Regions from separate parts of the Homo sapiens genome. Here regions 1, 2, 3, 4, 5 and 7 are each linked to region 6. The links are contacts of gene promoters, found by promoter capture Hi-C in blood cells and fetal thymus (Javierre and others, 2016). All regions are on one chromosome and are shown on one strand. The core of a region is centred on a gene start or on the middle of the fragment in contact, and the rest is flanking DNA. Distances in the headings are between cores, read along the strand shown.

Region 1 (2,700 bases), core at 39-2,538, 370 kb before region 6:
GTTTCCCTCTGGGACACGGGGCATACCCGGGGCATGCAGGGCACAGTGTGATGTGATGGAAAATTGAGTGGGGGAGCATGAAGAGGCACTGCATGGTGCCTATCACTGGACTGAGCATGTGGGGAAGCAAAAAGAGAGGACATGCAGGATATGGGCTTCAAACATATGTGGGCGAACAGCAGGAGTGCACAGGACTCTGGGAGCTCAGCTGGGCATTCAAGAAGGCTGTAGCAATGGGGACCAGGCCAGCCAGAGACATCACCTCCACCACTGTCGGTGCCAGCACCAGTAGCACTGTCTAAGGGGTCCTACCTGCGAAGATGTGGAAGCAGGGGTCCCCTTGACACCCCTGCCACTGTGCTCCAGATGCTGCAGCGGCTGTGTGGACGAGTGCAGGAGGAGGTGCGGGCCCTGAGACTATGCCCCCTGGAGCCTGTGCAGGATGAGCTACTCTACGCTCGGGACCTCATCAAAGATGCCAAGAACTCCCGGGCGGTGAGCCCTCCACAGGCTACCCTTCCCCTGAAGTCTGGAGAACCCAAGAAGGCCGACCATGCTAAGCCATGACAGCCCTGCCCTGTGCATCTGCCTTCCTAGCCCAGGGACCCCAGAGACCTAGCAAGTCCTGGTTCTGGCCTGCTAATCATAACCCCTTCCTTCTCCAGCTGTTTCCCAGCCTCTATGAGCTGGGCCACGTGCTGGCCAATGATGGGCCTGTGCGGCAGAGGCTGGAATCAGTAGCAAGTGAGGTGTCCAAAGCTGTGGACAAGGAGCTGCAGGCAAGTCCTGGAGGAGGGAGGAATCCATGGTGGGAACCTAGTGTTGACTGAGGCCCTAAGCCCAGAGCTAAAGTCAGAGCTGGGAGACTTCTGGAGGGCCAGGAGGACATGCAGAGTTGAGACCACCCACGCTCCCACTGTACCAAGGCATTGCTGCAATATCAGGCTTGGATTTTTTTCTGCTAGCTTTGATGTTGGTCCCTGAACTCTGACCTCCCTGCTCTGGATTTGGATCCTTGGACTGACTGCCCCTGTCTGTATGGTAGGGTGGAAGGAGCACTGACCAGAAAGTGGGGAAGCCTTAGTGTCCAAGGCTCTGCCACTAACAGTTTTGTGACTTAGGCAGGTCCCTCAGTCTCAGCAGGAGGGGCTGGAATAGATAAAGTCTCTTCTGCTGTGGTGCCAGCCCTGATCCTGTCCCCCTTGGGCCTCTGGCCTCCCTTTCCCCCATACTAGGTGATCCTGGAGTCCATGGTCAGCCTGACACAGGAGTTATGCCCTGTGGCCATGCGGGTGGCCGAGGGACACAACAAGATGCTGAGCAATGTGGCGGAGCGTGTCACTGTGCCCCGGAACTTCATCCGAGGGGCACTGCTGGAGCAAGCAGGACAGGACATTCAGAACAAGCTGGAGTGAGAGGCAAAGGGCAGGGCTGGGGCTGAGCTGGATTTGGCCCAGATCACTTAGGGACTTAGGACTGGAGAGCTATCAGCAATGAATAATGAATGGCACAATCTCCATTACAAGGATCAATCTTTAACCAAGTGCAACCTTGCTATTTAGGGTCTGGCTGGTCTTTGCCCTAGAAATCTAAGTGCTGAGCTGGGGTTTAGGAGCCAAGTTTGTGCCCACACAGGTGTACACACACATACCCACACAAATACACCAGGAATGGGATAGCAGGGCCTCCTCGGAGGCATGGACAAAGAAAAGTACCTGAGTTGGGTGCATGGAAGCACTGTCTTCCTCCCAGTTTTCATTGCCCCTAGAGTTCTTTCATTCTGGGTCTGGGTGCCACCACTCACCAAACCAAAGGAAAACTAGTACACATACCTATGAAACAGCTAGGCCCAAGGAAGGGTCTTTCCTACCCTCACAGTAGCAACTAGCAGGGTTTAGTTACTCAGCACCCCAATTACCTAGCTCTGTTCCACTGGGGCTCCAGGGGCCTGACCTAGGGCCCCCTTGCTCCTTCTCCTCGAATTCCTCTTTCCCCACACATAGTTGGGCTGGGGGCTCTGGGGTGGGACTAGACGTGTATTTGTGGAGAAATGAGTGTCAAGGGCTAGGCTGCCTCCTTCAGCAGCCACATGCGCTCCATGGGCAGACAGACCAGGCCAGCTGGCCGTTCTCTCAGGCTTCTGGGAGAGGGAGTGCCTCAGGGGCCATGCGGGGGACTGAGGTGCTAATGTTCTGAGTAGCCCCACCTGTGCCCACAGTGAAGTGAAGCTCTCAGTCGTCACCTACCTAACCAGCTCCATAGTGGATGAGATCCTGCAAGAGCTCTACCATTCCCACAAGAGCCTGGTAAGGCTTCTTCTGCAGCCTGGCCTGGCTCGGGCACGCCCTCCACCCCACATTATCCTGTCTCCCTAATCACCCTCCCCTTCAAGGCCCTGGGAGGTGGGCAGCTTCCATGGAATTCTGTTCACACCTGCCCTTCCCCAGGCCCGGCACCTGACCCAGCTAAGGACGCTGTCAGATCCACCAGGGTGCCCAGGCCAAGGGCAGGATCTGTCCTCCCGGGGCCGAGGCCGGAACCATGACCATGAGGAGACCACAGATGATGAACTTGGGACCAACATTGTGAGCCCCCCGCTCCCTGCTCCTCCTTAATAACCTGGGCCCTGCCCTTAAACCTGCACAACACTGTCCCCTTCCACTGATCTGTACTCCCCTGGCCACCTCACTGTGCCTGGCC
Region 2 (2,700 bases), core at 200-2,699, 350 kb before region 6:
CCCACCCTAGGCTGCCCCCTCTGCACTCGCCAAGTGTGTCCTGGCTGAGGTGCCACGGCAGGTGGTGGAGTACTACGCCAGCCAGGGCATCAGCCCTGGGGCTCCCAGGCCCTGCACACTGGCTACGACTCCCAGCCCTAGCCCGTGACTGCCTCCCTCCGGACCGACACTCCCTCAGCCTCTCAGTGAGTCCTGGGGCTTCCAAAGGAGTGGACACAGGGGGTGCAAAGTGGGGCTTGGTAGAGCCCAACTAGGCTGGGTGTAGTGTAGAAGAGAGTGCTTATGACTCTCCCACCCCCTCCCAGGTGCCTGTCCTGACCCTCGTGACTCCAGTGACCAATGCCTCCACCTCTTGGACCAGGTGTGCCCCCTGGGTTCTGGACGTGAGTGGTGGGTCCTGCTCCTATCTCTCCAAACCCCATACCCTTCAATGCTGTGGCCCCTCAGTGACTTCCTTGGGTGATCCTGACTTTCTAGCCATTAATAAAGAGAACTGCTCCTAGCACCTCAGCCTCTAACCATCATGCCTCAGATGCCCACTGGGCAGCCTGCAGCACCCCCACACACACCATAAGAAATGAGGACCAGCACCTTTCAAAATCTGAGACAGAGCTCCCCAGGCAGGCTGCTGTCTCTGCAGTCTTACCCCAGCTATGTGCCAGTGGGATCTGAGGAGCCCCCTCCCTCACCTCCCAACCCCAGGGGGTCTAGGCACCATGGAGAATAATTACAGGAGATAGGAGGATAATTACGGGCTGTCAGGAGGGCAGGCTGAAGCTTTCTTATAGCTGTCTCCAGAGAGGCCCTGCTGAGTCCCCCAGGAGCTGAACCCCAGCCCCCACACAGCTGTGGGGCGGGCCAAGAGCAGGTGCTGGGGGATACTGAAGGAGGGCAGCAGGTCTGCTAGTGAATTGGGAACATAGTGGAGCATCTAAGGCCTATACAGTCTGGTTTCCCGGGTGTGTCAATGTGTGTGTCTGTTCATGGCCTTAATGGGTCACACTCATGGACTCAGGGATGTGCAGTGCATGAACACACAGATTCACACACTTAACAATCACATCAGCAACAACAGCAAATATCATTACGTAGCATGTGTCAACTTTATGCTAAGTGCTTATTTAAATGCATTTATTCTCAGTAGGTGGTTACCATTATTTTCACCATTTTTCTGACAATCAAGTGAGGCTTGATTTTAACCCACCCATGGTCAAAAAACTGGTAGAACTGCAACTTGAAACAGGGTCTCACTCTGCCACCCAGGCTGGAATGCAGTGGCACGATTATGGCTCACTGCATCCCCGAACTCCTGGGCTCAAGTTATCCTTCCACCTTAGCCTCCTGGGTAGGTGGGACTCCAGGTGCATGCCATTACATCTGAATTTATTTTATTTTATTTTTTTGTAGTGACAGGGTTCTCGCTATGTTGCCCAGGCTGGTCTCAAACTTCCTCCTTGGCCTCCCAAAGTGTTGGGATTACAGGCAGGAACCACTGCGCCCCACCTAAAGCACTACTCTTAATCACCACAGTGTGCAACTTTGTTTTTTTAAGTATACTCAGGTAACCCAGGAGTATCATTTTGAGACCCAGGTATGGTACTGTATATGTGGCCTAGTTGTGTGCTCAGGTGTCTATGGATGGTTCTGTCTGTCTTTGTGTGCCATGCAGGTGAGAAAAGTGAACAAGAAAAGTAGTGGGTCTGAATTACAGCTCCAGGGCAGGCAAGGATAGACACAGGTGAAATTTAGAGTGAGAGAAAAAGAGCTGGGCTCCCGGAAGGACCCTCCCTGCCCCATCCTCTCCCTTCAACAATGAGTGTGGAAGGGGATGAAGAAAGAGAAGCTAAAGGTTCTGTGAGCCCCTCAGAGAGAGAATCCAGAGCCAGAGAGGATGGCCAGTGGCCAATGGTGGGGAAGGGAGAGGAGACGAGAGAAATTCTGAGAGCGATGGAGGAGAGGACTCCCATTGCAGGCTCCTAAGCGGAGGAGGGATGAGCTGGGATAGAGGAGGGGAAAGAGGGAGCAAGAACTGTGATGGGAAGAGAAGAGACAGCTGGGGAGGGGGTGGAGAGAGGGGGTAGAAAGGAAGAGGGACATATGGGAGCCTCTTCCCCCATGCCCGAAAGCTTCTCCCATTTATTATGTCCGGTAGAGGACAGATGACAGTAACTCGTGAGGCGGCTGCTCCCAGCACAACGCCTGTGCTCTGCCCAGAGGCCCCATCTGCCCTCCCCTTAGCCTGCTGAACTGGAGGACTGGGTTACCATGGAAACTGTGAGACCTGGATAGCCACTGACAGGCCGAGCTGGGCCACTGAGGCTTCTGAGTTTGGTGGTGGTGGTGGTGAGAGGGGGAGGATCCATCTGTTCCAATGCCTGCCCCTCCACCCCATTTCCATTGGCTCTCCATAACAGATGTGCCACCCAGCTCCAGGTGGGGACTTCCCTTTTTCTTGCTCTCTCTCTCTCTCCCTCTCTCTCCCTCTCCCACACACAGACACACAAACAGTAGCCTGAAGCAGGGATAAAGAATGAACACTTCTTAAATTGCAAGAACATTTAGCTTATTGCATTAGAATTCTGCCTGGACTTCAAGTTTAATTCACAAAAGCTGCACTCTCTCAGCAAATTGTCATCCCAGGAGAAGTCTCACCTCAGCCCTCAGAGAGGTGGGAGGTGGCAGGAGCACCCTGTGCAGGTC
Region 3 (2,700 bases), core at 201-2,700, 270 kb before region 6:
TAGCTATACTACAGGTCTTGTTCATTTTTCTCATGGATATGCCGCTGTGTGTATGTGTGGTTCTATGCAGTTCTGTCCCACGTATGGATGCATATAACCACCACCATAATCAAGATACAGATTGTTTCATCACCACAAAGGAACTCTCTCATGTACCTCTTTAGTTATACCCTTCTGCCCCCACTTCTAGTCACCTGGCAACCATGAAGCTGTTCTCCACCTCTATAGTTTTGTCATTTCAAGCATGTTATTTGTATATTTAATGGAATATGAATGTTTTTATAGGCACTTTTGCCTTTACCTTAGGTGTCACCATTGTCTATTTTCCTCCACCCGACTGTCTTCAGATGTTTACGTTGCCTGCCTGGCCCCTGCTGGCACTTGAGGTTGTTAACCCTGCCCAGTTGTTAATTAGACCCTGATTTCTTAGTGGACACCTGGCCACTGCCTCTTCCCTAGCCTGGCAGCTGTGGCTTCTGACCCCCTCCCCTCCAACCCCTCACCCTCCAGATGCAGGCCCTGACTTCCTGTGAGTGCACCATCTGTCCTGACTGCTTCCGCCAGCACTTCACCATCGCCTTGAAGGAGAAGCACATCACAGACATGGTGTGCCCTGCCTGTGGCCGCCCCGACCTCACCGATGACACACAGTTGCTCAGCTACTTCTCTACCCTTGACATCCAGGTACTGCAGCCCCTCTAGGACTCAGGTACCCTGAGCTTTGAACAGGGACCCTCCCACCCACCACCTCTGCATCCTGTCCCCAGCTTCGCGAGAGCCTAGAGCCAGATGCCTATGCGTTGTTCCATAAGAAGCTGACCGAGGGTGTGCTGATGCGGGACCCCAAGTTCTTGTGGTGTGCCCAGGTAAGTGGCCTGCCCAGGGCAGCTACTGTGGAGGGGCAGGGGATGGTTCCAGGTCAGGCCTTTGATAACTTTATGCTCTTGCACTTCCAGTGCTCCTTTGGCTTCATATATGAGCGTGAGCAGCTGGAGGCAACTTGTCCCCAGTGTCACCAGACCTTCTGTGTGCGCTGCAAGCGCCAGGTGAGGCACATTCATCCTTTCAGAAATACTTGCTGAGCTACTGCCAGGTACTGTGTTAGACTCAGGGGAGTTTGTGTACTGGAGAGCAAAACAGACATGAGCTCTGAGGTCAAAAGAGCTTACAGACTACTCAGAAAGACTAGGCACAAGGAGAAAGGGAAGCAGAGGGAGGGAGGAAATCGGGAGGGAAAGGAAAGGGGAGGAGGAAGGAAGGAAGGAAAGAAAGTAAGCCAGAGGAACTAATTATACATAGGCATAAATTCTATGAAGAAAACAAACAGGAACCTGAGATCAGGGTAACAGAGTGGACCTACTTAGGGTAGAGAGGTCAGACAAGTCTTCTCTAAAATGGTTTAAGCTCAGGCCTAAACATTAAAAAGAAGCCAGCCATGCAAAGAGCATTTGGGAGAGAAAGAACAACACATGGAAAGGCCAGAATCAGAAAAAAGTGTTGTATGGCTGGAGCCTGGAAAGCAAGGCGGGAATGGCAGGTGGTCAGAGAGAAGCCAGCTGCCAGGTCTGTAGAGCCCTGGAGGCCACGTGAAGCAGGCGTCCGTCTGCCTTCATTCTGAGATAAAGCAAGGGTGATACTATCTCATTTATCTTTCGTTTATTTATTTATTTATTTATTTTTAGAGACAACTCACTGTCACCCAGGCTGGGGTCCACTGGTGCAGTCACAGCTCACTGCAGCCTCCAACTCCTGGTCTCAAGTGATCCCTCGCCTCAGCCTTCCAAAGTACTGGGATTACAGGCATGAGCCACTATGCCCAGCCACATTTATCTTTTAAGAAGTGTAATATTTGGCTAGGCATGGTGGCTTCCGCCTGTAATCCCAGCACTTTGGGAGGCCATGGTGGGTGGATCACTTGAGGTTGGGAGTTCAAGACCAGCCTCCCAATATGGTGAAACCCCGTCTCTACTAAAAATACAAAAATTAGCCGGGTGTGGTGGCATGTGCCTGTAATCCCAACTACTCTGGAGGCTGAGGCAGGAGAATCGCTTGAACCCAGGAGGTGGAGGCTGCAGTGAGCCAAGATCACGCCATTGCACTCCAGCCTGGGTGACAGAGCGAGACTCCATCTCAAAAAAAAAAAAAGAAGTGTAATATTTGATACGAAAAAAATTTCATCTGCATCATGTCTGAAATAAAGTGAACACCTGAGACTACCACAGAACCAAAACACCACCAATCCTGTGGAAGCTACCTGACTTACAGTTTTGAAGGACTTTTGACAGCCATGGGGAGAATTGACCCTAGGGGAGCAGGAATGGGAAACAGAGAGACTAGTAACCGAGGCAAGCAATTGAGGCAAGGTCTGATGGTGGCCTGGAGTAAAGTGGTAGCAGTAGGGATGAAGGAAAAGGGGATATGGTTGAGATGGTCTGTGGGGTGGAAACAAGGCAAAAGTAGTGTGAGGTGGTAGGAGAAAATGAAAGGACCAAGGATGGCCTCTCATTTTGAGATCTGAGCAAATGGTAGGTGGCAGTGACATAAACCAAGCTGGGGAACCACTGGATGTGAGTGGAGGGGCCAGCAAGAAAGGCCAGGGGATGGGATAGAGCTCCCATGTGAAGCCTACTTTCCCTCTGGCAGTGGGAGGAGCAGCACCGAGGTCGGAGCTGTGAGGACTTCCAGAACTGGAAACGCATG
Region 4 (2,700 bases), core at 10-2,509, 300 kb before region 6:
CACTAGAAATTATGTCCTTTGCAACTATTTAAAACCACAATGAGACCAGGCATGGTAGCTCATGCCTGTAATCCCACCACTCTGGGAGGCCAAGGCAGGAAGATCACCTGAGGCCAGGAGTTCAAGACCAGCCTGGTCAACTTAGTGAGACTTTGTCTCTACAAAATAAATATTGAAACAAGGTCTCACTCTGTTGCTTAGGCTTGGAGTGCAATAGTGCCATCACGGCTCACTGCAATGTCAACCTCCTGGGCCCAAGTGATCCTCCCATTTCGGCCTCCCAAGTAGCTGGAATTACAGGCACGTGCCACTATGCCCAGCTAATTTTTTTAATTTTTGTAGGGACGGCGTCTCACTGTGTGAGACCAGCTCAAGGTGGTCCCGAACTCCTGTGGCTCCTCAGGCTGGTCCCAAAGTGCTGGGATTACAGGCATGAGCTACCACACCTGGCCAAAAAATAAAAAATAACCAACCATGGTGATGCATTCCTGTAGTTCTAGCTACTCAGGAGGCTAGGGCAGATGATCACTTGAGCCCAGGAGTTTGAGGCTGCAGTGAGCCGTGATAGCACACTGCATTCCAGCCTGGGCAAGCGTGAGACACTGTCTCAAAAAAATAAATCATAAAACTTTAATAAATAAAAATGAGTGGAAAGAATTTTTTTTTTTAAGACGGAGTCTTGCTGTTGTTGCTCAGGCTGGAGTGCAATGGCACAATCTCGGCTCACTGCAACCTCCGCCTCCCGTGTTCAAGCGATTCTCCTGCCTCAGCCTCCAGAATAGCTGGGATTACAGGCGCCCGCCACCGTGCCCAGCTAATTTTTTTATTTTCAGTAGAGACGGGGTTTCACTATGTTGGCCAGGCTGGCCTCAGGCGATCCATCCACCTCAGCCTCCCAAACTGCTGGGATTATAGGCGTGAACCACCATGCCCAGCCTAGTTCAAAATTCTTTTATAGGGTTCATTGAAGGTCACTATTCCAAGGTATGGGCTTTAGGATCTGGAAGGAATCTGATTGATTATCCAATCTGTCTTGATCAGTTTATAAAGGAAATTGATTTACTGAGGACTGAAGAGGGTTCATTGATTTTCCTAAAGTCACACAGTTGGGCCCAGAACTCAGGTGTCCTTGCTTGCTCATTCCTTTCACTACTTCCGCTGTGCTCTGAAATCCCACCACTGGTTTTGAGGAATGAGGAAGAAAGAAAAAGTGATCTCGAAACAGTTACTGACTAACAGGCACTCTCCGTGGATAGGTAGCTGACTGCCCTGCTGTCGCCGCCTCAGCAGTCAGACTGGGAGGGCAGGCTTATATGGAGAGCCCTGAGGCCCAGGGTAGTTGGTTGGAGGATGGAACTTAAGGTTTCAATTGACTCCTGTCTGGCAATTGCCCTTTTAGGGTCTCCTCTACCTCTGTCACCTGGGAGTAAACCTAATCTTTAGGGATCTGAGGGTCAACGTGATCAACAGATGAAACCGCCAGTTTATACAGCAGCCCTGGGCCAAACTAGTCCCTTAGAGACCCTCAATCCAGACAGGAACTAGGGCAGAGCCAAGCTGCTGGGGTCACAGGGCACTGAAGTGGATACCCATGCTGATCTGCCTCCCAAGGCCTATGATGGCCACAGTGCTGTGCACAGCCACCTTGCTGCATCCTGCTGTTGGTGGGCTCTTGTGCTCAGAACCCCAGGAGAAGGGCTAGATCACACTGATAAGACTGGCAGCTTTTTTTAAAAAACGACTTTCAAGGTTTGGTTATTTTTATCTCCATGACCTCTGATTTCCCTGTGGAGCAAATGGTAAAGTAGGGGTGGGTGGAGAGGGACTTTGGCAGACTATGGACAAGGACAGCCCTGAACAGCTGGCCCTGTCACAGGAACTGGAACATGGTCGGAGCCAAGGACACAGGACTAACAGGAAAGGACACAGACTGCTGTCAGGACACATACTACCACACACCCGAGGCCAGGACCCTGCTGACGTGGCAGACCTCCACCCTGGCCCCTTACTGCCCCCCGCCCCTCTCCCCCACCTGCCAGCTGCCAACAGGGCTCTGCCTTGTGTCTGCCACACCTGTCACTGCCTATCCTTGTCCAGGGGGGGCCCCATCAGCCCCTCCTCAGCTGCCCAGCAAAGCAAGCAGTTAGTGGGGAGGGGAGGGAACATGGAGCGGGGGCCGGTGGTGGGGGCAGGACTGGGGGCCGGGGCCCGAATCCAGGCACTGCTGGGCTGCCTGCTCAAGGTGCTGCTCTGGGTGGCCTCTGCCTTGCTGTACTTTGGAAGCGAACAGGCCGCCCGCCTTCTGGGCAGCCCCTGCTTACGGCGCCTCTACCATGCCTGGCTGGCAGCAGTGGTCATCTTTGGGCCGCTTCTGCAGTTCCATGTCAACCCTCGGACTATCTTCGCCAGCCACGGCAACTTCTTCAACATGTGAGTCCACTCAAGGCTGTGGGAGCCGGGTCCCTGCACTCTGGGATCCTAGCTCCCTTCTCCAGGCTTCTGTCCTCCTGCCAGTCTGAACACTAAAAATAGGCTAGGAGGTTGAGGAAAAGGTCGGGGGAGGGGGAAGGGAACAGAGCCCTGGGGTACAGGGGAAGTTGGGAACAGGACTAAAGAGGAAATATGGACCCTGGAATGCTGAATTGTCTTCCAAGGAGATAGCAAAGGTTAAATGACTGGGGGCTGTAAAGGGCACGGCAA
Region 5 (2,700 bases), core at 125-2,624, 390 kb before region 6:
TTCTTAGCTAGCCCCAGTGTGTTACTACTGAACTATATGATCTTGAGAAAATTCCCTGAACCTGTTTCATCATCTCCACCTTAAGGACATTGGAATAGATGATCTCAAAGGCCCCTCCAGGGTAACTTTCTACAGCTCTATTTAAGCCAGTTTTTCCATTCAGGTAAGTGTGGCCAGATTGACTTTGAAATAATGGTAACTTATTCAAGAAGAACTGGACAGTAAGCACTTGGAGAAATGTGGGTGGAACTCAGTGTGAAAGGAAGAGGAGGGGTCTGGAAATAGATTTTGGGGTGAGATTTGAAATCACGAGAATGAAGGAGCTCCCAAATGGGAAAATGTAAAGAAAAGAGCATAGGGTCAGAGACAGCCTTAGAAGAATAGGAGGTGGGAAGAAAACACTGCAAAAGAAATAAGGCCAACTTCCTGGTGGCTCACACCTGTAACACTTTGAGAGGCCGAGGCAGGCGGATGGCTTTAGCTCAGGAGTTCCAGACCAGCCTGGGCAACATGGCAAGACCCTGTCTCTACAAAAAGTACAAAAATTGCCCAGGTGTGATGGCACGCACCTGTATTCTCAGCTACTTGGGGGGCTGAGGCAGGAGGATGGCTTGAACCCAGTAGGTCAAGGCTGCAGTGAGCTGGGATCATGCCACTGAACTCCAGCCTGGGTGACAGAGGAAGACTCCATCTAAAAAAAGAAAGAAGCCAACCTTAAATGGTTAGCAGCAGATCTTAGGGTAGTTTTCAAAAAAGATGTTTTAAGAAATAGAAGTTATTTTGACGATAGTTCCTAAGAAGGAAGATTTGTTGTTGTTGTTGTTGTCATTGTTGTTGTTTTTTTAAATATAGGGATAAGGTCTCCCTATGTTGCCCAGGCTTCTCTCAAACTGCTCAGTTCAAGTGGTCCTCCCACCGTGACCTCCCAAAGTGCCATGATTCCCGGCGTGAGCCACCACGCCCCGCCCAGAAGGAAGTTTTTATCAACGTGAATAAATGCACCTCCCTTACTTACTGCAGCCCTGGTCCAGACCTTACCCCTCTCCCTAGGCTATGAAGCTTCATGGAGTTATTGATATCCTATCACTATCGATAACAAACTCCGTCTGCTTTTAGAATGTGTTTATCAAGTGCAGTGTAAATGTGAGGAGTCTTTGCCACATGCCACACACCTGGAGCACACCTGGTAAAGGGCGGGTGGGGGCAGCTTCCTCTGTCCCTGCCCTTCTCATTCGTTTCTGCTGCTCCTACTTCTGTCTGCTTCCATCTGCCCTTCACTATCCACCGTCTGCTCCCCTCCCCAGCCTTCTTCCCGGCATGCTCTGCTACCTGGTTGATTTCCAACAGAGACGTGGCAGCTAATATGCCAACAACTATGACACTTAAACTTACACACCCAACTGTCCCCCTTTCAGCTGCCAAAAAGGAATCATTTTTCATTAGCTGGGAAATATTAAAAGCTGCTAGTTAAGTAAAATACTAATTCTGGTGAAATAACCAGTTGCCACTTTATAATATACATCCTTTAAAAAAGTAAAAATAAAAACCTATATTATTTTCTTCCTAACTGCAATGTCAAGAAAATCTGAGATCCAGATGTCTATATTCAAGTGGTACAATATTGGGTTTTATGTGTAAGTATATAATTACATTACATTCGTAATATATTTCACACACATTCTTTAATTACAAAGCTTTAATTAAAATATTTGTCTTTGTATACTAAGGTTAATAGTCCCACGATTTGGAAATGCTAATTTTTTATGATCTCCCATGGTTTTGCTTTTTACTCTGATGTTGTATTAGTCTGTTTTGCGTTGCTATAAAGGAATACCTGAGCTGGGCAATTTATAAAGAAAAAGAGGGTTGTGGCCGGGCGCGGTGGCTAACGCCTGTAATCCCAACACTTTGGGAGGTCGAGGCGGGCAGATCACGAGGTCAGGAGATCGAGACCATCTTGGCTAACATGGTGAAAGCCCGTCTCTACTAAAAATACAAAAAATCAGCCGGGTGTGGTGGCGGGCACCTGTAGTCTCAGCTACTTGGGAGGCTGAGGCAGGAGAATGGTGTGAACCCGGGAGGCGGAGCTTGCAGTGAGCCGAGATTGCGCCACTGCACTCCAGCCTGGGTGACAGAGCGAGACTCCGTCTCAAAAAAAAAAAAAAAAGAAAAGAAAAGAGGGTTGTTTTGGTTTACACTTCTGCAGACTGCAGAAGAAGCATGGTGCCAGTATCTGCTTCTGATGAGGCCTCAGGAAGCTTACAATCATAGCAGAAGGCAAAAGGGAGCAGGCGCGTTACATGGCAAGAGAGGAAGTGAGATACCAGGCTTTTAAACAACTAGCTCTGGCATGAACTAATAGAGTGAGAGCTCACTAATTGCCACCAGGAGAGCACCAAGCCATTCATAAGGGATCCACCCCATGACCCAAACACCTCACACCAGGTTCCACCTTGAACACTGGTGATCACATTTCAACATGGGACTTAGAGGGGACAAACATACCAACTATATCAGATGTCATCAAACATTTCTCAACACTAAAGTATCAGGATGTGAAAACACTATGATTTATTTACCAGTGTTTCATACACATAAAGACCAAAGTGCCAAAATGTTCTTCAGTGAGCTAGTTTTTTATTGTTAAGCTTTGTCCCTCTTTTTTTTTTTTTCCTCGCTGTGTCATCGAGGCTGGAGTGC
Region 6 (2,700 bases), core at 201-2,700:
AGCTGGGCTCCCCTTCTTCCCCCTCCCCACCCTCCTGAGCCGGGGATGGGGGCCAGTGCTGAGGTCACCTGGACAGTTTGGCGGTTGTACACCTTCACCACATGGAACCGGAAGCTGTAGACACCCCGGACAGGGGCTACGAAGGAGCCAGAGGCCCGGTCAAAGCCACCGCCCTCGTTCACCAGGACCTGGGGGAAGCAGAGCCTGCTGAGTGGGGCTCAGGAAATGCCCATGGCTCAGGGGTACCATGGGGACTAGGGGCAGGGGCAGTGAGTAATGAATAGAAGGAGTGGCAAGTAGGAGTGAATAGGAGTGAACAGATTCAAAAGAAATGGTGAGAAGGGGCAAGGAGAGGGCTGCGTATGGGTGGAGGGAGGGGAAACCGTCGGTGGGGTGGTGGGGCAATAGGCCAGATTAGTGAAAGATGTAGGAAGCTGTTTTCTTAAAGCCTCAGAGACAGCAAAGTGGGCTTGGACAGTTGCTTCCAGGTCCTTGCAGGGTCTTTCCAGGTCCCCTGGACAGGGGTAGGGGGATTACCTGGTCGAAGTAGATGGCCCCACTGGTGCCATTGCCGGTTTCCCCTGCTGGCTCATGGTGGTGGCTTCGGACCGCAGCAAATGCCACTCGCCCAGGGGGTGCCTCTCCCAGGGCTGCTCCCCCGGGCCCCCCTGCAGCAGCTCGGCCAGGCTCACAGACCACCAGGCACTCCCCCTCCAGCAGGACGGGCTCTGACCCCTCCTGGGCCCACCCGGCCCCCAGGGCCAGAAGCACCAGAACCAAGGGCAGCCCGGGACTGTGTAGGGGACCTGGTAGCCAGTGTGGCTTGGCTCCCAACATGGCTGAGGGGCTCTGCAACCCACAAGTGCCCCGGTCTTCTGCCCCTCTTCTGTTTCCGCTCCTCTCCCTGGATTCTCACCGCCGGCACCCTGATCGTCTGCCCTCTCTAGGCTCGCTGAACCCCCTCTCCATACCTGTGTCCCAGCTCTGTCCTGCCTCCCACTCTTACTCCTGCTGTCACTGCAGTTCCCTCCTCCTTGGCAGAGCATGCAGTGACAGCAGTTGGGCTTTGGGAGAGAAAGGAGGGATGAAGCCGCCTGCCCACTGGACGGGAGGGCTGCAGCCAGAGCTTCAGGGCAGCCCTGCTGGATGGGACAGCACTGAGGGCTGGACCTGGGGGGATGGAGAACATGGTATGTGTGTGTGACGGGTGTGACAGAATGTGTGAGTGTGTGCATATGCCAGAGGCAGCCCCTCAACCCCTTCCTCCTACTCTTCCTCTCTTCAAAATCCCCCACAAATCAACAGCCCTTCTTCGTGGCATCTTTCCGTTTGTTGGAAGAAAGGGGTACTCCACCACGGGTACCCTCCGCCTCCCGCCTCCCGCCTACCCCCTCCGCCACGATTGCTTTGGTGGAAAGTGCTTGGGCCTAGAGCACCAGTGGGCCAGTCACGCTGCCTCTTTGGTCGGCCACATCTTTATTCGCGGGAAACAACTTTCAACGCATGGTTCCCCTTTCCGAGAAGTAACTGCGCAGAATGCGCGAGGACCCTGAGGGCCGGGAGACAGACGGGAGGGCTGGTGAGAAGCGCAAGGGGCGAGCCCTGGAGCCGCCGAGGGGACTAGGCCGAGCGGGCCCGTCGGGGCCTCTGGGCGCGGCGGCGGGGTTGGGAGGAGGGCGCGCAGCCGGGAGGAGCTGGGCTGACTCCGCCCCAGGCCAGGAAGTGACTCAAGAAACAGTTTGCGTGCGATGTGGACAAGAGAGGTCCCCGCTGGGTGAGGAACCCGGGAAGGCCCGCCCAGATTCGGGCCCCCTGCCCTTGTCCCCTGGGCTGGGGGCGCGGGCAAAGCGGGGGCCTGGCGGGCGCTGAGAGGACCTGAAGCCGGCGCGGGCGGCGGAGGCGGTAGGCGCGCCCCTCCACCGCGCCCGGGAGCGGGGAGCGGGGGCCGCGGTGCGGAGTAGGCCCGGCCCGGGGTGGCTGCCCCAGTCCGCGGTGGGCGGGCCCGGCCCGGCCCGGCCCCTGGGCCCTGGGCGGTGCTCCTGGCCCGACGGAGAGGGGCAGCGGACGGCTGGGGGAGGGGTGGGAGTGGCTTGAACCTTGGAAATGGCAGACCAGGGCCCCCAGAGGACAGCCTAGTTCAATCCCCTGCTGAGGATTCGTCCTTAAGAAGCTTCAGAGTGCCCCAGGAGACTCCTTCTGGCCTCCAGGCCGAGCTGGAGCCCCCCCACCCTTCTTGCTCCGGACTGTGGTCATCCTTTTCCAAAGCCCAGACGCCCACTCTCGATAGACAGCCTTGTTTACCGGGACTTCCTCTCCGGAGAGGCCTGCGTGACATACACCCTCCCTACCTCCAGTGGACTCAGATGCTTGTCACCTCCTGGGGCTGTTTACCAGAGCCTTAACTAGGTGCGACCTGTTGATAGCTGGTGTAGTCCCAGGAACCAGGATTTGGATGGAGGGTACAATGAGGCTCTGAGCTGCCTTCTCCCCTTCCAGGGCTGGGGGCAGCAGCCATGCCTACCTGGGGGGCCCGCCCCGCGTCCCCAGATCGCTTTGCGGTGTCTGCGGAGGCTGAGAACAAGGTTCGGGAACAGCAGCCCCATGTGGAGCGCATCTTCAGCGTGGGGGTGAGCGTCCTTCCGAAGGACTGTCCGGACAACCCCCACATCTGGCTGCAGCTGGAGGGCCCCAAGGAAAACG
Region 7 (2,700 bases), core at 1-2,500, 320 kb before region 6:
AATTTTGTCATAAAACCTCAGTTATTTTAACATTTACCATGACTTTTAAATGTTTTACTCAATAATGTACAAGTTCCATATTACAAAAGCTTGAATTAAAAGATTTTATTCAGGTTTAAACTAATTTGTAAGAAGAAGAGAAAAGAGAATCAAAAAATGAATTGTTAAGGAGATAAGTTTAACAGAAGTTTTTTGTTCGTTTTTCTGGACCTCAGGTGCTATAGCTGTATTCATCATAATCCTTTGTAGAAGCTACACCTTTGTCACCAGTTCATGCAAGCCCTCCCCACTTTGTTTAATGATGTAATGAGCTGGGTATTATTATACTTTTTTTTTTTTTCTTTGAGACGGGGTCTCATTCTCGCCCAGGCTGGATGAAGTGCAGTGGCGCAATCATGGCTCACTGCAGCCTTGACCAGACTCAGGTGATCCTTCCACCTCAGCATCCTGGGTAGCCAAGACTACAGGCCCAGCTCAATTTTGTTTTTGTATTTTTCGTAGAGATGGGGTTTCGTCACATTGCCCAGGCTGATCTCAAATTCCTGTGGTCAAGCGAGCTGCCCGCCTCAGCCTCTCAAAGTACTGGGATTACAGGTGTGAGCTACCACGCCTATTATACTTTCTAATGAAAAAATGAAACCACATCGTTTTTGCATCTATTACATGTCACCAGAAGAAATGATTATCTTTATTTTTTTAACTTGACAATGTAGTTTGCACAATTTCCTATGGTATAAAAATAGAAGGCTACAACAAACCTATACCAGGAATAGGTACCTTAAAAAAAAATTGAAGACTACAACACCATTTTAATAGCTACCTGGTATTTCTGTGTCTATACTACATGGACCATAATTTATTTAACAATCCCATATTGCAAGATATTTAGATCTTTGTTTCCAGTGTTCCACTTTTATCAATAATTGCTATGTAGAACATAAATTTTTATGCATGTCCGGCCTAGATTTCTGGAAGCAGTATTACTGGGTCAAAGTGCAAGGCTGTGAGGAAGGGAGTTTTGTAGACAGCTTCCCTCTAATAAGAAATTCTCCTGGGAAGGTGCAGAGGTAAAAATAAACAAGCTATTTATTGGCATATTTGCTTAGCAGAAATATCAAAAAATGAGGTTACTAAAAATAGACATCCAGGTTTGGAAGTTTGTATTTGAAACAATGAACAATAGTGAGCCATTTGTTGATTTTCTTTTAGAGACAGTCTTTAGCTCTATCCCCAGGCTGGAGTACAGTGGAGCAATCATGGCTCACTGCAGCCTCCACCTCATAGGCTCAAGATTCCCTCCTTCATCCTTCCCAAGTAAGTTGGGACCATAGGCACGCGCCACGATGGCCGGCTATTTTTTTTTTCTTTTTGTAGACTGGGTCTCACTATGTTGCCCAGGCTGGCCTTGAACTCCTGGCCACAAATGATCCTCCTCCTCGGCCTCCCACAGTGCTGGAATTACAGTCGTAAGCCACCGTGCCCAGCTCACTTGTGCGTTAAGCACTAAATGCTGTTAGAGGAGGATTCTTCAGCAGATCAACTACCGGAAGAGGCATAGGTGTTTTTTGTTTGGTTGGTTGATTGTTTTTTGTGTGTGTGTGACGGAGTTTCGCTTTTGTAGCCCAGGCTGGAGTGCAGTGGCGTGATCTCGGCTCAATGCAACCTCCACCTCCCGGGTTCAAGCGATTCTCTTGCCTCAGCCTCTCGAGTGGCTGGGATTACAAGCGCATGCCACCACACTCGGCTTTTTTTTTTTTAGTGACGGGGTTTCACCATGTTGGCCAGGCTGGTCTCGAACTCCTGACCTCAGGTGATCCACCCGCCTTGGCCTCCCAAAGTGCTGGGATTACAGGCGTGAGCCACCGCGCCCGGCCAATTTTTTTAAAAAATGATTCCGTCCTGAGACTTTGCTGAAGTTGCTTATCAGCTTAAGGAGATTTTGGGCTGAGACGATGGGGTTTTCTAGATAAACAATCATGTCGTCTGCAAACAGGGACAATTTGACTTCCTCTTTTCCTAATTGAATACCCTTTATTTCCTTCTCCTGCCTGATTGCCCTGGCCAGAACTTCCAACACTATGTTGAATAGGAGCGGTGAGAGAGGGCATCCCTGTCTTGTGCCAGTTTTCAAAGGGAATGCTTCCAGTTTTTGCCCATTCAGTATGATATTGGCTGTGGGTTTGTCATAGATAGCTCTTATTATTTTGAAATACGTCCCATCAATACCTAATTTATTGAGAGTTTTTAGCATGAAGGGTTGTTGAATTTTGTCAAAGGCTTTTTCTGCATCTATTGAGATAATCATGTGGTTTTTGTCTTTGGCTCTGTTTATATGCTGGATTACATTTATTGATTTGCGTATATTGAACCAGCCTTGCATCCCAGGGATGAAGCCCACTTGATCATGGTCGATAAGCTTTTTGATGTGCTGCTGGATTCGGTTTGCCAGTATTTTATTGAGGATTTTTGCATCAATGTTCATCAAGGATATTGGTCTAAAATTCTCTTTTTTGGTTGTGTCTCTGCCCGGCTTTGGTATCAGAATGATGCTGGCCTCATAAAATGAGTTAGGGAGGATGACAAATGGGATCTAATTAAACTAAAGAGCTTCTGCACAGCAAAAGAAACTACCATCAGAGTGAACAGGCAACCTACAACATGGGAGAAAATTTTCGCAACCTACTCATCTGACAAAGGGCT

What was found. Contacts are between HindIII fragments. The CHiCAGO score rates a contact against its expected background, and 5 or more counts as called.
Region 1: a contact is called between a fragment that was not itself captured here and the fragment with the promoter of CBLN3 in region 6, in 3 of 17 cell types (total CD4 T cells, activated CD4 T cells and naive B cells). The highest score is 6.3, in total CD4 T cells.
Region 2: a contact is called between a fragment that was not itself captured here and the fragment with the promoter of CBLN3 in region 6, in 3 of 17 cell types (total CD8 T cells, naive CD8 T cells and naive B cells). The highest score is 5.8, in total CD8 T cells.
Region 3: a fragment that was not itself captured here is called in contact with the fragment with the promoter of CBLN3 in region 6 in 5 of 17 cell types (neutrophils, non-activated CD4 T cells, naive CD8 T cells and 2 more); the score reaches 6.7 in neutrophils.
Region 4: the fragment with the promoter of FITM1 here is called in contact with the fragment with the promoter of CBLN3 in region 6 in 9 of 17 cell types (naive CD8 T cells, neutrophils, non-activated CD4 T cells and 6 more); the score reaches 8.4 in naive CD8 T cells.
Region 5: a contact is called between a fragment that was not itself captured here and the fragment with the promoter of CBLN3 in region 6, in 4 of 17 cell types (non-activated CD4 T cells, naive B cells, activated CD4 T cells and 1 more). The highest score is 5.8, in non-activated CD4 T cells.
Region 7: a contact is called between a fragment that was not itself captured here and the fragment with the promoter of CBLN3 in region 6, in 3 of 17 cell types (total CD4 T cells, naive CD4 T cells and activated CD4 T cells). The highest score is 6.2, in total CD4 T cells.

The regions. Positions count from the first base shown.
Region 1 is chr14:24,060,262-24,062,961 of GRCh38, forward strand. It overlaps CARMIL3 (capping protein regulator and myosin 1 linker 3), which reads left to right. Exons shown (of 40, transcript NM_138360.4): 25 at 367-495; 26 at 666-779; 27 at 1,236-1,411; 28 at 2,219-2,306; 29 at 2,448-2,585. Among named protein-coding and RNA genes, the nearest start is that of CARMIL3, 9.6 kb to the left of the region's middle. The HindIII fragment of the contact is 4,487 bases long and covers 1-2,700 here.
Region 2 is chr14:24,077,583-24,080,282 of GRCh38, forward strand. It overlaps CPNE6 (copine 6), which reads left to right. Exons shown (of 17, transcript NM_006032.4): 16 at 11-185; 17 at 306-505. The coding sequence ends at 148. NRL (neural retina leucine zipper) reads right to left here. Exons shown (of 3, transcript NM_001354768.3): 3 at 1,080-2,700. Among named protein-coding and RNA genes, the nearest start is that of CPNE6, 7.4 kb to the left of the region's middle. RefSeq lists an enhancer at 1-25. The HindIII fragment of the contact is 1,349 bases long and covers 776-2,124 here.
Region 3 is chr14:24,154,647-24,157,346 of GRCh38, forward strand. RNF31 (ring finger protein 31) reads left to right here. Exons shown (of 21, transcript NM_017999.5): 12 at 511-684; 13 at 768-866; 14 at 957-1,046; 15 at 2,644-2,700. Among named protein-coding and RNA genes, the nearest start is that of IRF9, 5.3 kb to the right of the region's middle. The HindIII fragment of the contact is 7,637 bases long and covers 1-2,700 here.
Region 4 is chr14:24,129,400-24,132,099 of GRCh38, forward strand. FITM1 (fat storage inducing transmembrane protein 1) reads left to right here and starts at 1,260. Exons shown (of 2, transcript NM_203402.3): 1 at 1,260-2,430. The coding sequence starts at 2,165. The HindIII fragment of the contact is 10,773 bases long and covers 1-2,700 here.
Region 5 is chr14:24,041,638-24,044,337 of GRCh38, forward strand. It overlaps the pseudogene DHRS4L1. Among named protein-coding and RNA genes, the nearest start is that of CARMIL3, 9.0 kb to the right of the region's middle. The HindIII fragment of the contact is 635 bases long and covers 1,058-1,692 here.
Region 6 is chr14:24,428,218-24,430,917 of GRCh38, forward strand. It overlaps CBLN3 (cerebellin 3 precursor), which reads right to left and starts at 1,451. Exons shown (of 3, transcript NM_001039771.3): 1 at 538-1,451; 2 at 69-188. The coding sequence starts at 837. It overlaps KHNYN (KH and NYN domain containing), which reads left to right and starts at 1,737. Exons shown (of 8, transcript NM_015299.3): 1 at 1,737-1,902; 2 at 2,497-2,700. The coding sequence starts at 2,514. RefSeq lists a silencer at 1,574-2,113 and enhancers at 2,144-2,323, 2,468-2,700. The HindIII fragment of the contact is 4,979 bases long and covers 1-2,168 here.
Region 7 is chr14:24,109,793-24,112,492 of GRCh38, forward strand. The region is part of intron 1 of NRL (neural retina leucine zipper); the gene reads right to left. Among named protein-coding and RNA genes, the nearest start is that of DCAF11, 3.6 kb to the right of the region's middle. The HindIII fragment of the contact is 2,327 bases long and covers 88-2,414 here.